3 separate regions of the Homo sapiens genome follow, and all the other regions are linked to region 3. Evidence: promoter capture Hi-C in 16 types of primary human blood cells and fetal thymus (Javierre and others, 2016). All regions are on one chromosome and are shown on one strand. Each heading gives the region's core, a stretch centred on a gene start or on the middle of the fragment in contact. The rest is flanking DNA. Distances are from core to core; before and after follow the strand shown.

The links. Contacts are between HindIII fragments. The CHiCAGO score rates a contact against its expected background, and 5 or more counts as called.
Region 1: a contact is called between a fragment that was not itself captured here and the fragment with the promoter of CAMKV in region 3, in 1 of 17 cell types (endothelial precursors). The highest score is 5.4, in endothelial precursors.
Region 2: a fragment that was not itself captured here is called in contact with the fragment with the promoter of CAMKV in region 3 in 1 of 17 cell types (M1 macrophages); the score reaches 6.6 in M1 macrophages.

Annotation. Positions count from the first base shown.
Region 1 is chr3:49,659,291-49,663,346 of GRCh38, forward strand. BSN (bassoon presynaptic cytomatrix protein) reads left to right here. Exons shown (of 12, transcript NM_003458.4): 6 at 1,196-3,272; 7 at 3,586-4,056. Among named protein-coding and RNA genes, the nearest start is that of APEH, 13 kb to the right of the region's middle. The HindIII fragment of the contact is 4,908 bases long and covers 1-4,056 here.
Region 2 is chr3:49,614,084-49,618,127 of GRCh38, forward strand. All of the region lies in intron 1 of BSN (bassoon presynaptic cytomatrix protein), which reads left to right. Among named protein-coding and RNA genes, the nearest start is that of APEH, 58 kb to the right of the region's middle. The HindIII fragment of the contact is 5,524 bases long and covers 1-4,012 here.
Region 3 is chr3:49,868,586-49,872,539 of GRCh38, forward strand. It overlaps CAMKV (CaM kinase like vesicle associated), which reads right to left and starts at 1,321. Exons shown (of 11, transcript NM_024046.5): 1 at 1,173-1,321. RefSeq lists enhancers at 1-73, 74-1,005. The HindIII fragment of the contact is 1,273 bases long and covers 944-2,216 here.

The DNA of each region.
Region 1 (4,056 bases), core at 725-3,224, 210 kb before region 3:
TGCAGGCACAGAGGTCCCATGGGCTGGCCATGTGAGACCAGGCCATGATAGGCACTCATGATGCGTGGCCAAAATAAGAAAAGAGACAACAGAGTGAGGGGTTCAAAAGGCTAAATTTATTCCATAAAAGGCCCACCCTGAAATTTTGAGGGCACACTATAATTTTTATTATGACATATGGTGGATGTAGGTGGGAGGTTTTTAGGTAGTTACTTGGCAAGGTAAAAAGTAAGAATCCTATAGGAGTCACTTCCCAGTATATATTGGAATTTGGGTGGTCCATGAAACCCAAGGGCATGGGGCATTCTGGGAAGGCTAGGAGCGAGAGAAAAAGGGAGAAGACAGAGTGAACTACCAGGCAATGTGGACCTTCAGGCAATGCAGAGTGTCTAGGGTAGGCAAGGAGGACCCCATGGTAGGCACTGTTAGGGAACCTTGACCAGGAAGCCATGCTGCTGGAGGTAGGGCTGGATAGGACTTACGGGTGCACTGGTGGCTCCAGAGAACAGCAGGTTGACCGAGGGACATGGAGGGAGCTGGGGACCAGGCCAAGAGCACAGCCCAGAGGGTTTGGCAGAGGGCAGTGCAGGGCACTAGAGGAAGAGGGTGGGCAGGCAGCTGAGGAGCCTTCCACTTTAGAGAGGACTAGGGCAGGATGCAGAATGACTCAGAGCCTGCCACGATTGGCATACAATCTACATGTGTCCCTTCCCATGATCCTCTAGGGAGCCTGGCGGGCCCAGGACCCTCTCCACTCCATGCCTCCTGTTCATACTCCACTGATCTCAACCCCTGTCAGCTGCTAGGCCCCAAACCCAGAGCCACAGCTGTACTCTTCTTACCTCAATGTGAGGCAGAGGGTGGCAGGCCCATTGGAGATGTGCAGGGGTTCTCAAAGCCATGTGCTGGGCCAGTACAGGACATTGGCATGAAGGGAATCTGCCCGTACCCTCCTGCTTCCCAAAGCTCTGGGAAAGAGAAGGGCTGTAAAATAATCACAGATCTTCCCTCTATGGCAAAGAAACCAAGGCCTATGGGTGGGCAGGGTAGGCCTCCAGGCTGCCTGGTAAATCAGGGCACCAGCAAGATGGAACCCAGCTCCTTCCCCAGCCCAGGCCTGGGTTCTGCCACCCCACACCCCATCAAGTCACCACACCTTGGGTCTCAGTGCTGCCCACCCTTCCCTCTGTCTCAGGTGTCGGCGTTGCCACCCAACAGCCTGGTCCGCAAGGTGAAGCGGACACTGCCCAGCCCCCCTCCAGAGGAGGCTCACCTTCCCCTGGCTGGCCAGGCCTCCCCACAGCTGTATGCAGCCAGCCTGCTGCAGCGAGGGCTGACGGGGCCCACCACTGTCCCTGCTACCAAGGCCAGCCTGCTCCGGGAGCTGGACCGGGACCTGCGGCTGGTGGAGCATGAGTCCACCAAACTGCGCAAGAAGCAGGCAGAGCTGGATGAGGAGGAGAAGGAGATTGACGCCAAGCTCAAGTACCTGGAGTTGGGTATCACACAACGCAAAGAGTCTTTGGCCAAAGACCGGGGTGGCCGTGACTACCCACCCTTGCGTGGTCTTGGCGAGCATCGTGACTACCTATCGGACAGTGAGCTCAACCAGCTGCGGCTCCAGGGCTGCACCACTCCCGCTGGCCAGTTTGTGGACTTCCCTGCCACTGCCGCTGCTCCTGCCACCCCCTCTGGTCCCACTGCCTTCCAGCAGCCCCGCTTCCAGCCTCCAGCCCCACAGTATTCTGCAGGCAGTGGTGGGCCAACTCAGAACGGATTCCCAGCCCACCAGGCCCCCACCTACCCTGGCCCCAGCACGTACCCAGCTCCTGCCTTTCCTCCTGGTGCCAGTTACCCAGCTGAGCCTGGCCTGCCAAACCAGCAGGCTTTCCGCCCCACAGGCCACTATGCAGGCCAAACACCCATGCCAACCACACAGAGCACCCTTTTTCCAGTCCCCGCTGATAGCCGTGCCCCACTGCAGAAGCCACGCCAGACATCGCTAGCCGACTTGGAGCAGAAGGTGCCCACCAACTATGAGGTGATCGCCAGCCCCGTTGTGCCCATGTCTTCAGCCCCATCTGAAACCAGCTACAGTGGCCCAGCAGTGAGCAGCGGCTATGAGCAGGGCAAGGTCCCTGAGGTGCCCCGGGCTGGTGACCGTGGCAGTGTGAGCCAGAGCCCAGCCCCCACCTACCCCTCTGACTCACACTATACCAGTCTGGAGCAGAACGTTCCTCGAAACTACGTAATGATTGATGACATCAGTGAACTGACCAAGGACAGCACCTCTACTGCTCCTGATAGCCAACGGCTGGAGCCCCTGGGGCCAGGCAGCAGTGGGCGTCCAGGGAAGGAGCCTGGAGAACCAGGTGTCCTTGACGGGCCCACACTGCCCTGCTGCTATGCCAGAGGAGAAGAGGAATCTGAGGAGGACTCATACGATCCCCGCGGGAAGGGTGGCCACCTCCGGAGCATGGAGAGCAATGGTCGACCAGCCAGTACCCACTACTATGGTGACAGTGACTACAGGCATGGGGCTCGAGTAGAGAAGTATGGTCCAGGGCCCATGGGGCCCAAGCATCCCTCCAAGAGCCTGGCTCCAGCTGCCATCTCCTCAAAGCGCAGCAAGCACCGGAAGCAGGGCATGGAGCAAAAGATATCCAAGTTCTCGCCTATTGAAGAGGCCAAAGACGTAGAGTCAGACCTGGCGTCCTACCCCCCACCTGCAGTCAGCAGCAGCCTGGTCTCTCGGGGCAGGAAGTTCCAGGATGAAATCACCTATGGGCTCAAGAAGAACGTGTATGAGCAGCAAAAATACTATGGGATGTCCAGCCGGGACGCAGTGGAGGACGACCGCATTTATGGCGGGAGCAGCCGGTCCCGGGCACCTTCTGCATACAGTGGGGAGAAGCTGTCCAGCCACGACTTCAGTGGCTGGGGCAAGGGGTACGAAAGGGAACGGGAGGCTGTGGAGCGACTTCAAAAAGCGGGCCCCAAGCCCTCATCCCTAAGTATGGCCCACAGCCGGGTACGACCCCCCATGCGGAGCCAGGCCTCTGAAGAGGAGAGCCCCGTCAGTCCTTTGGGGAGGCCCCGCCCTGCCGGAGGGCCCCTCCCTCCCGGCGGGGATACCTGCCCACAGTTCTGCTCCAGCCACTCCATGCCTGATGTCCAGGAACATGTCAAGGACGGACCTCGGGCCCACGCATATAAGCGTGAGGAGGGCTACATCCTGGATGATTCCCATTGCGTGGTTTCCGACAGCGAAGGTAATGGCAGCCAGGGGTGATTTCTGCGGATACTCAGCAGCTGGGGGGCCTGCCTACCTGTGGGGCCCTGGGCCCTAAGATGTCCCAGCAGGGTCTGGTCTGGCGCCTCATCTGGTGGGCCCTGCTGCAGGCAGGCTGCCCTTGCCTGCTCCATCTGTGCCCTGGTCCGTGGTTGCGGGAGGGTGGGCTGGGGGCCTGCTGATCTGCTTGTGGCTGTGGCACCCACTCTCTTGGTTTCTTTGCATGGCTTCAGCTAGGCCTCCCCCTGCGGCTAGCCCGGGGGTTGATGGTATTCTGTTTTTGGTCTCTGAAGCGTATCACCTGGGCCAGGAGGAGACGGACTGGTTTGATAAGCCCCGGGATGCCCGCTCTGACCGGTTCAGGCACCACGGGGGCCATGCAGTTTCCTCCTCCTCCCAGAAGCGAGGCCCTGCCAGGCACAGCTACCATGACTACGATGAACCCCCTGAGGAGGGCCTGTGGCCTCATGATGAGGGTGGCCCAGGCCGCCATGCCTCAGCCAAGGAACACCGGCACGGTGACCACGGGCGGCACTCAGGCCGCCACACTGGTGAGGAGCCGGGACGGCGTGCTGCCAAACCACACGCTCGGGACCTGGGTCGCCATGAGGCCCGGCCCCACTCTCAGCCCAGCTCTGCTCCAGCTATGCCGAAGAAGGGTCAGCCTGGGTATCCCAGCTCTGCTGAGTACTCACAGCCATCCCGTGCTTCATCCGCATACCATCATGCCTCTGACAGCAAGAAGGGCTCCCGGCAAGCCCACT
Region 2 (4,044 bases), core at 1-2,500, 250 kb before region 3:
GAGTCTCGCTCTGTCGCCCAGGCCAGAGTGCAGTGGCTTGATCTCGGCTCACTGCAAGCTCTGCCTCCCAGGTTCATGCCATTCTCCTGTCTCAGCCTCCCAAGTAGCTGGGACTACAGATGCCCGCCACCACGCCCAGCTAATTTTTTGTATTTTTAGTAGAGACAGGGTTTCACCGTGTTAGCCAGGATGGTCTTGATCTCCTGACCTCGTGATCCACCCGCCTTGGCCTACCAAAGTGCTGGGATTACAGGCGTGAGCCACCGCGCCCGGCCGACATTCAGTCTTTAAAGTTATACTGAACTCATGGCATTTGACACGTCAGCTGACTGGTGGCCACATATAGCTCTTGCTATTCTGGAAAAGCCATGGGATAGAGGTAAAAATGGGACTGAGGGGAAGATCAAAGGTAAACGCCACATGAACCACTACTGTATACCTACTGGTCTCTTTCTAGAATTTGGCCTGAGGTGGGCCTGGTGCAATTCTTAGTGAGACACTACAAGAATATGGATGTCACTTGAGGCAGGTCTAAGGGTTTGGTTTTGTTCTACATCATGGATGACAAGTCCATGGCCTTTGTGCTTAATTGATGGTGACAATCTTTCCCATGAATCCTTCCCAAGCCCACTTCCCAGGCGGTCACTACCAATTTATTGGGGTTAAAGGAAAGTTACCCTTATGTTACCCTTATTTCCTATCCTTGCTCTGGATTCTGGAGACTAGCTGGTCCCAGAGGAAACCAAAAGCAAATCAATTTTCCCTGAAAGATGTTCTCAATCTAGTAGACCCACTCAGGCCCCAGGGCTGGGGAATGAGGTCCCCAAGGTTTACTTTTGTGGCATTTGTGGCCTGGATTCCCCTTGCTTTCAGACTCCTGGTGGTCTCCCCGTCTGATGCTGGCAGCTTCTTCTAGCCTATGTTTAATGGCAGCAAGTCTTGTTCCTACCAGTCCCTCTTGTCACATTCTCCCCTTGCTGACCCACCTGCAGTCTCATGCTGGACTCTTTCTCTCAGCAACATCAGAGCAGTCAGAGCTCACTGCCTTAAACATGTTCTCTTCTGGCCCAAACAGGCTGGCCTGGAACAAATTGAGCCTTGTTATTTGGCCACAGGAAGAGTCCCACCTGCCAGACATTTCTGAGTGGAAAGGATGAGTGGAGGTGGCAGGTACCTGGTAACACTGATGGTTCCTTCATGTGGGTTTGTCTGCTCAGGGGTGTTGAGTGCATGTCTGCCCAAGTGCATCAGTATACACCTGGCGTCACTGGTGTATACTGATGCATGGCCACCATGGTGCTTTGTCCCCAGCTCTACCAAGGACCTAGCTCTCTGGGTTACTCTGGGGTCTTTTGAGTCTTGGAAACTTACCATCAGAGTGGGACTACAACATAAAGGGGCTGGGAAGTTAGGAAGAGAAGATGTCGGCCTCAAGGGAGCTCTGCCTATGGCATGACCTCTCACCCTGCCCAGGAACCCTGGGTGTGGTACCTTCCCTCTCCAGCCAGCAGACAGCACCTTAGAGGCTTTGAGCCCATGATGCCATCTTCTTGGGCAATCACAGGCTCTTTCTGTGGCTGTGGCTGCGTTTTATGGAGATCCTTACCTTTGTGCTATTGCCGTCAGCACTGCAAATTCTTTTTGGCCCCTAGGACAATCAGGAAGCTGATGAGGCCAGCCCTTGATGGCTGGGGGCCTCCCTGTCACTGACCTAAGTACACTTTCCATGGAGCCTGGTGGAGGGTAGGACTGAATCTGGTCTGGGAAACCAACAGAGACTATTTTAAGGACTGGCGATTAAGAGTGTAAGAATTTTCTTAGCAGTGGCCTCAACTAGGACACATATGCCAAGGGGTTGAGGAATACGGGAGGGACAAGGCAGAACATATGGAAATTTCTGTTTATATTTATTGTCTATCTCATCTTTTAAAACTTTTCCACTTGGGGAGGTGGGTTTTATAAAAAATATGCATTTATATAATTGGTAGATGAATATTCATATGTTGGAGATGCTGAAACATGTTGTATTGATAGAGGCACATGATTAAAAAGGCAGGAGGCCACTGGCTTGAAGGCTGGGCAGGCCAGGATATGTTTTCTTGTGCAAAAACTGGAATTTTTTTCTAAGCCTAAACTTTCTAGATTCTCATATCCATTCCTGAGAGAGAAGCTCTAGGACACTGGACCTGGCCCCAGCACCCACTGCTCTACAGCCTCTGCTTTGCTGCCTGGGTGCACAGGAACCACTGGCGTGGCCCAGTAGTCCTTCCTGCCCTGGGACTCAAAGGAGAGGGTCCTCCCACAGCATCTGCCCATCCCTAATTGCCCATTACAGAAAGGTCAGCCATGAATTCATCAAAACCTCTTTTGAAGCTGTGGGGCTCTTCTGGCCACTCTGACTTAGAGAAACAGTTTCTTTAAGTTCACTCCCCTCCTGGTGAGCAAAGACAGCCATTTATTAATGGAAAACATTTCTTTCAAATCCTCAACTGAAGGCGGTGGGGGGCATGCTCTGGAATGCTGCCTTGTGGGGCCCAGCTTGGTTTTCCCTCTGGCGCCTGCACTGGCTCCATGCCTGGCTGCTTTTCCGTCTGGTCTGAATCAGCCTGGTCAGGCCCTCCTTCCCACTGTGCACCAGGGCAGCCACATCTCTCCTGGTGGTTCTGCCATTATGGACGTCACTGGTGTCTGAAGCATTTTTTAGTCACTGACGCTGGCCTCGTGCCTTTCTGGGGGCTTCTGACAGAGGGGAGCCCAGCCTCTCACCAGTGCAATCAGGATTATGTCTCCCAGCAGTGGTCCTGGGATGGGACAGGAGGCCACAGGGTACTAAGGATTGGTGGGGGAGAGGCTAACTGAATTTTCTCTGTTCCCGTTCCCAGCAGCCCTCCTGTGGCCAGGGGGCTCCTTCCTGCCTTGGCAAACAGCTCTGAGTTAAGATTGTTTCTGATCAGCTAATAGCCTTAAATGCTGAAAGGAAGAAAAGCTGGTAGAAATCTGGCTGTTTGTACATTGTTTACCTTTCTTGGCCATCTTAAAAATATATTTGTCCCAATATCTAATGCATGTGGGGCTTAAAACCTAGATGACGGGTTAATAGGTGTAGCAAACCACCATGGCACATGTATACCTATGTAACAAACCTGCACGTTCTGCACATGTGTCCCAGAACTTAAAGTAAAATAAAAAATAAAATACATTATATATATATATATATATATATATATATATATATAATTTTATAATTTGTCCCTAGATAAGGCATTTCTAGTCTTCCCTGTTTGACTTCTAGCCACTCCTTCATCTCTCTGCCCTTCCTGTCTCTTGTGTCTCCTTTATGGCGGCACCCCTCTCCCCTCCTTGCTTACACACCCTTACCCTGGCCCTCCCCAGCAATAGGACTCCCATGGCTGCTGGGAGGAGCAGTGGCCTCAAGGGGCCTCTCTGCTGATGAGGCCACATCCACAAGACCAAGTCTTCCTTGGGGTGGGCTGGGTCCTGCCTGTGGACACCTCCCTCTCTTTTTCCTCATTCCCTTCTTTCTCCTGCCCAGCGGCCATATTTTGGCGGAGACCTTTGTTTGTGTCTCTTAAGAAGAGCCTCCTGGAGGGCTTACCTCTTCCCTCCTGAGGAGGCCTTGGACGGGTGTAGTCACTGTGGCTCTCATGGAATGTGTGTTCAGGTGTGTGGTACAGACAGTTATGACCCCTGGAGCTCCTGCCACGGTGGGCCCTTGTGTTCAGCTGGAGAAGGAACTGGCCCCTCCCAAGCTGGACTGGTTTGGGACAGGGCTTGGGCATTTATGGTGTGTGGCACTCATAGGTGTAGCCTTTCTTCCTGTGACTTCTCGGCTTTCACATACGTAGACTCATCATGGCATGGGGCATTGTTGAGTGCTCCTCCTCATGGGAACTTCTATAACCCTGTGGGGTCATTCTCTTTTTTCTCCTTTCCCTGACTTCTCTGGTTCTGACATCTCCTCTACTCCTATGAACTTTGGTCCTCCCCACAAAGCTTTCTGGGTGATTTCTAGCCTGAGAATTG
Region 3 (3,954 bases), core at 71-2,570:
TGAAGGGTCCACACCAAATATTAGAAAAGGGAGACCCTTGCCCCACCCTGGAAACCAACCTGACTCTGAGTGGAGACACCAGTTCCCCAGTTGAGGAAACTGAGGCTCAGAAGTCGCTGGAGCTGCCAGGAATCAACTCTGAGGGTGGGGGAGGGCACCAGGTCTCTAAAGGTAGTCCTGGGGGCTCAAAGCCTGGACTTGGGGGTAAGGGGAGTACAGCACAGGGACTGGACTACTGCAGACTCTGAGCTTTTAGTGTGGGACAGAGGGCCCTGATCCTTAGGAAGGAACCTGGTGGAGCAGGATCTGCCTGGGAGGTGCGGACAAAAGCAATTTGGCAGAGCTATGCGGGGAGGGGGCTGGGGCTCAAGAGCCCAGGGTCTCTGCCAAACAGTACAAGCTGGGGAAGGCAGAAGCTCATGCTGTCACTATCCCAGCCACCTCCAGCCAGGGGCCCTGCTCCCCACCGTGCTGCCACCCTGACCCCTTTCCCAAGTGCTGCTGGCTCGCCCCCGCTGGCACAGCAACACACATGCGGAAAGCACACGTGTGAGCACCAAGCCCCGCACCTCCCAGCAGGAACATGTGCGCCCCCACCCCCACCGTGCACGTGGGTCCATGCACTGGACCCCCAGCTGGCACCCAGGTGAAGGCTTGGAAGCTGAATTTTGGCTGGGGGGCTGCTGGTCCCCAGGGGCTTGGAGCTTCCTCCCCCACCCCGCGGCAGCCCCGCCCAGCCCCCTCCGGGTTGTCGCCCATAAAGAACTCTCCGTTGTCATGGAAATTAGTGACTGCTAAGCGGGAGGGAAGGGGCCCGGGGACAGTTGGGAGGGGCTGGAGGCGGCTCTGGGAACGGGGAGGGACGGCTCAGCTCTCGGCCCCTATCCTCACGGGGGACCACGAATCTTCGAGGGTTAATCTTTTCACAATTCCGAGCCGCAGAAGCTTCCCCCCAGAACCCCCAAGCCGTCCGAGGTAATGGGGAACTTTAGCCCGACCCCGCACTCCCTCCCCCAAATCTGCAAAGCCCGCGCGCTCTGACCCCGCCAGGACCTCGAGCCCTCGCTGCGCCCCCGCGCACTCTGCATCCCGCACCTCGAGCCAGGGAAACAATCCCCCAAGGCCCCACAACCTGCGTTCGGGAAGCGCCCCCAGCCCGGCCCGCCCCGCACCTGCAGCGCCGGTTGGTCACAGGGAGGAAGTGATCGCGGGCTCAGCGGGGCGCCGAGGGCTCCGGGGACGGCGGGCAGAATCCGCTCCGAGCACGCGGGGCAGACGCGGCGCCAGATGCAGCCGCTTCGGCTAGCGAACCTCCAGCATCGCCAGCCGCTTGCCGGCACCGGATTCGCACCCCGGGCCGGGGGCGGGCTGGGGGCGGGGCCTCCCAACCGGCCCCGCCCCGACCCTGGCGGAGCCTTAAGGGCAGAATCCCACTGGAGAGCAGGAGCGCGCGGGATGGCAGCGGTGCTGGTGAGCACTGGCCTGCTTAGCCCTGGCCAAGGTTCTCAATGGCTCCCTTAGGCCCTCAGCCTGGGGCCGGAGGAGGCCTCCTATGCCCAATGTAAGGGGTGGTGAGTGGAGAGTTGGGGGAAAGCCTGAGTCCTGGAGCTGCATAGGATCGCTTGCCAGTCATTAGTCTCTAGGGAACGGGGCTTTGCCCAGCTCCCCGAACCCGACCCAAAAGGCAGGACCAACTTAGAAAAACCAGATGGGCAGTCGGGCTAGGGCAGGCTCCCCTAGCTAGGAGCAGTAAACACACAGAGGTGTGTGTTTGCAGGTAGTCAGTGTGGCATCCCCTAGCATCCCCTAGCTACGCATCCCCTAGCTAGGAGCAGTAAACACACAGAGGTGTGTGTTTGCAGGTAGTCAGTGTGAAAACAGTGAGGGCCCTAGACTGTAGTAGCAAAGTCTCCTATCCCACCCCATCCCCAACTCCTGCAAGGCCAGAGTCTTTCCCAAACATAAGTACCAGCAAGGGTGGCAGCACAGTCAGCCCCTTCCTGTGTGGCACCAAATTTCCCAAACTATAAAAGTCACCTGTGACATGGTGTGGCCTCTGCTTTCTTTTCAGTCTAATCACTGTCAAACACTTCATGAGTTGTATCACTCTAGTGGCCTGGCCTGGGATATGGGGACACAGGAGAACTGTGGCACCAAGGTATCCCACCTGGCCTGGGTGCTAATCAGAGGGAGGAGGCTCAGAACCACCAGGAGGAAGCTTTAAAGGAAGTCCTTGGCCATTTCTCTGTCCCTTGTCAGTGAGGCTCACGGACCCAAAGCCTGACCCACACCCCTCACAAGCCCTGAGGACCATCCTAAGGCCAGTATCTGAAGACCAGACTCAGGCCTCTCAGTGTCTGGAGCTGGGTTTTATCCCACCTCACTCCTCCCAGTGAGCCTCCTGACCCTGCTGTGGGAGAGGGAGTTGGGGTCATCCCCAAACCCTCAGCCATCTTGAGGCTGCCCTGGCCACCCATGGCTGATGACAGGAGGGACTGTCCAAGTCCAGAAGCTGGGGCTGGGGCTCAGACTGAAGGCTAGCTTAGGAAATGACCGCCTCAAACAAGGTTCCTCAAAATTTTCCTCCAGAGGGGGTACTGAGCCCTTCACCTTCCTCCCTGGCTTGGTGTTACCTCCTCTAGGCCAGGCTGGTGCCACTTCTGGGGTCCCTGGGCTCTGAGTGGTCTCGGGTTATGGGACCCACCCCACCACTGGGTAGGAATCTCCTGGCAGGCTGGGTATCTGCAAGGCAGAACCCGTTTCTCATCTCAGTATGCTCGGCTGATGTCTGCAGAATGAATGAATGGCCTGGCACTGAGTCCTTCCTGCCATCTGCCCACTATTCTTGAAACAATGGGTCTCTGAGTTTTATGGTGTAGCCAAGCTGTAGCTTGCTGACCCCACACATGCCACATACATGTTTTCTGTCTTTCCTGAGGGTCATGGCTATCCAGGCATGGGGGTCAATGAGAAGCTGGAATGGGGATTTTTAGGCAGGGGAAGGGGTGGCTCCTTAGCGCCCTGCCTGCTGCTGGCAGTACTCCACCTCTTCTTGGTCCTAAGCACGCTCTGTGCATGTGGGTGAGAGCACGTGGCAGGGTGTGTGTGCACACGTGTACGTGTTGTGTATGCTCTCTTTTGCCGAGGGAGATGCAACAGCACAGTGTATGCAGTGGTGCCCAGGGGCACGTGTGTCTGCATTCTTTGTGCACCCAGGCATGCTTGCTGGCACGTGTGTGTGGACGCTGTAGCTGGTCCCTGGAGTTATCAGTCCCCTTCCTGCCTGACACAAGTCTCAGGATTGTGGAGGCTGAATCAGGCTTTGAGAGCTGGACATGGGAAGGGGGCTGGACCATGTCCAGCAGTGGGCAGGGTCTGTGCTGACCCTACATCATTGGCTGTTTTCAGGCTCCCCACCAGAGCAGCCCCTTGATCTCTGGTGTATGTGAAGATAGACAAGTCTTTGCCATTTGTGGAGGGCAATCTGAAGACAAGAACCCAGGGCTAGGATTGAGCCATGGCTTATCCCTCAGCCCCTAGACAGGAAGGCACAGGCAGGGTAGGACCGGCTTCAATGTTTTGGCTTCAACCTCCAGCTGCCTTTCAGGCAGGAGATAGTAACATCAGCTGAATGCCATCCTCTTAGCTCTTCCAGGGCAGGGACGGGACCAATGCTGAGCTTTGTTCTTACTTCCACTATTCAAAGCCAGACGGGGTCAGGGGACATGATTTCTCACCACTCCACTGGCCAGAGTGATGGCAGGAGGCCCTTTAGCACAGACCAGAGTTTGGAACAAGAGCAGAGGCAATCCAGATTAGCATTGCCTAGTAGCCTTTATGAGGACCCTCCTAAGGAGGCCTGTACCCTGAAGACAGGGGCTGCCTGGGTTGGGAGGCTGAGGAGGAGAAGAGGGCCCAAGTTCGTAGTTCTGGCTCCCACCAAAGCTAGAAAGT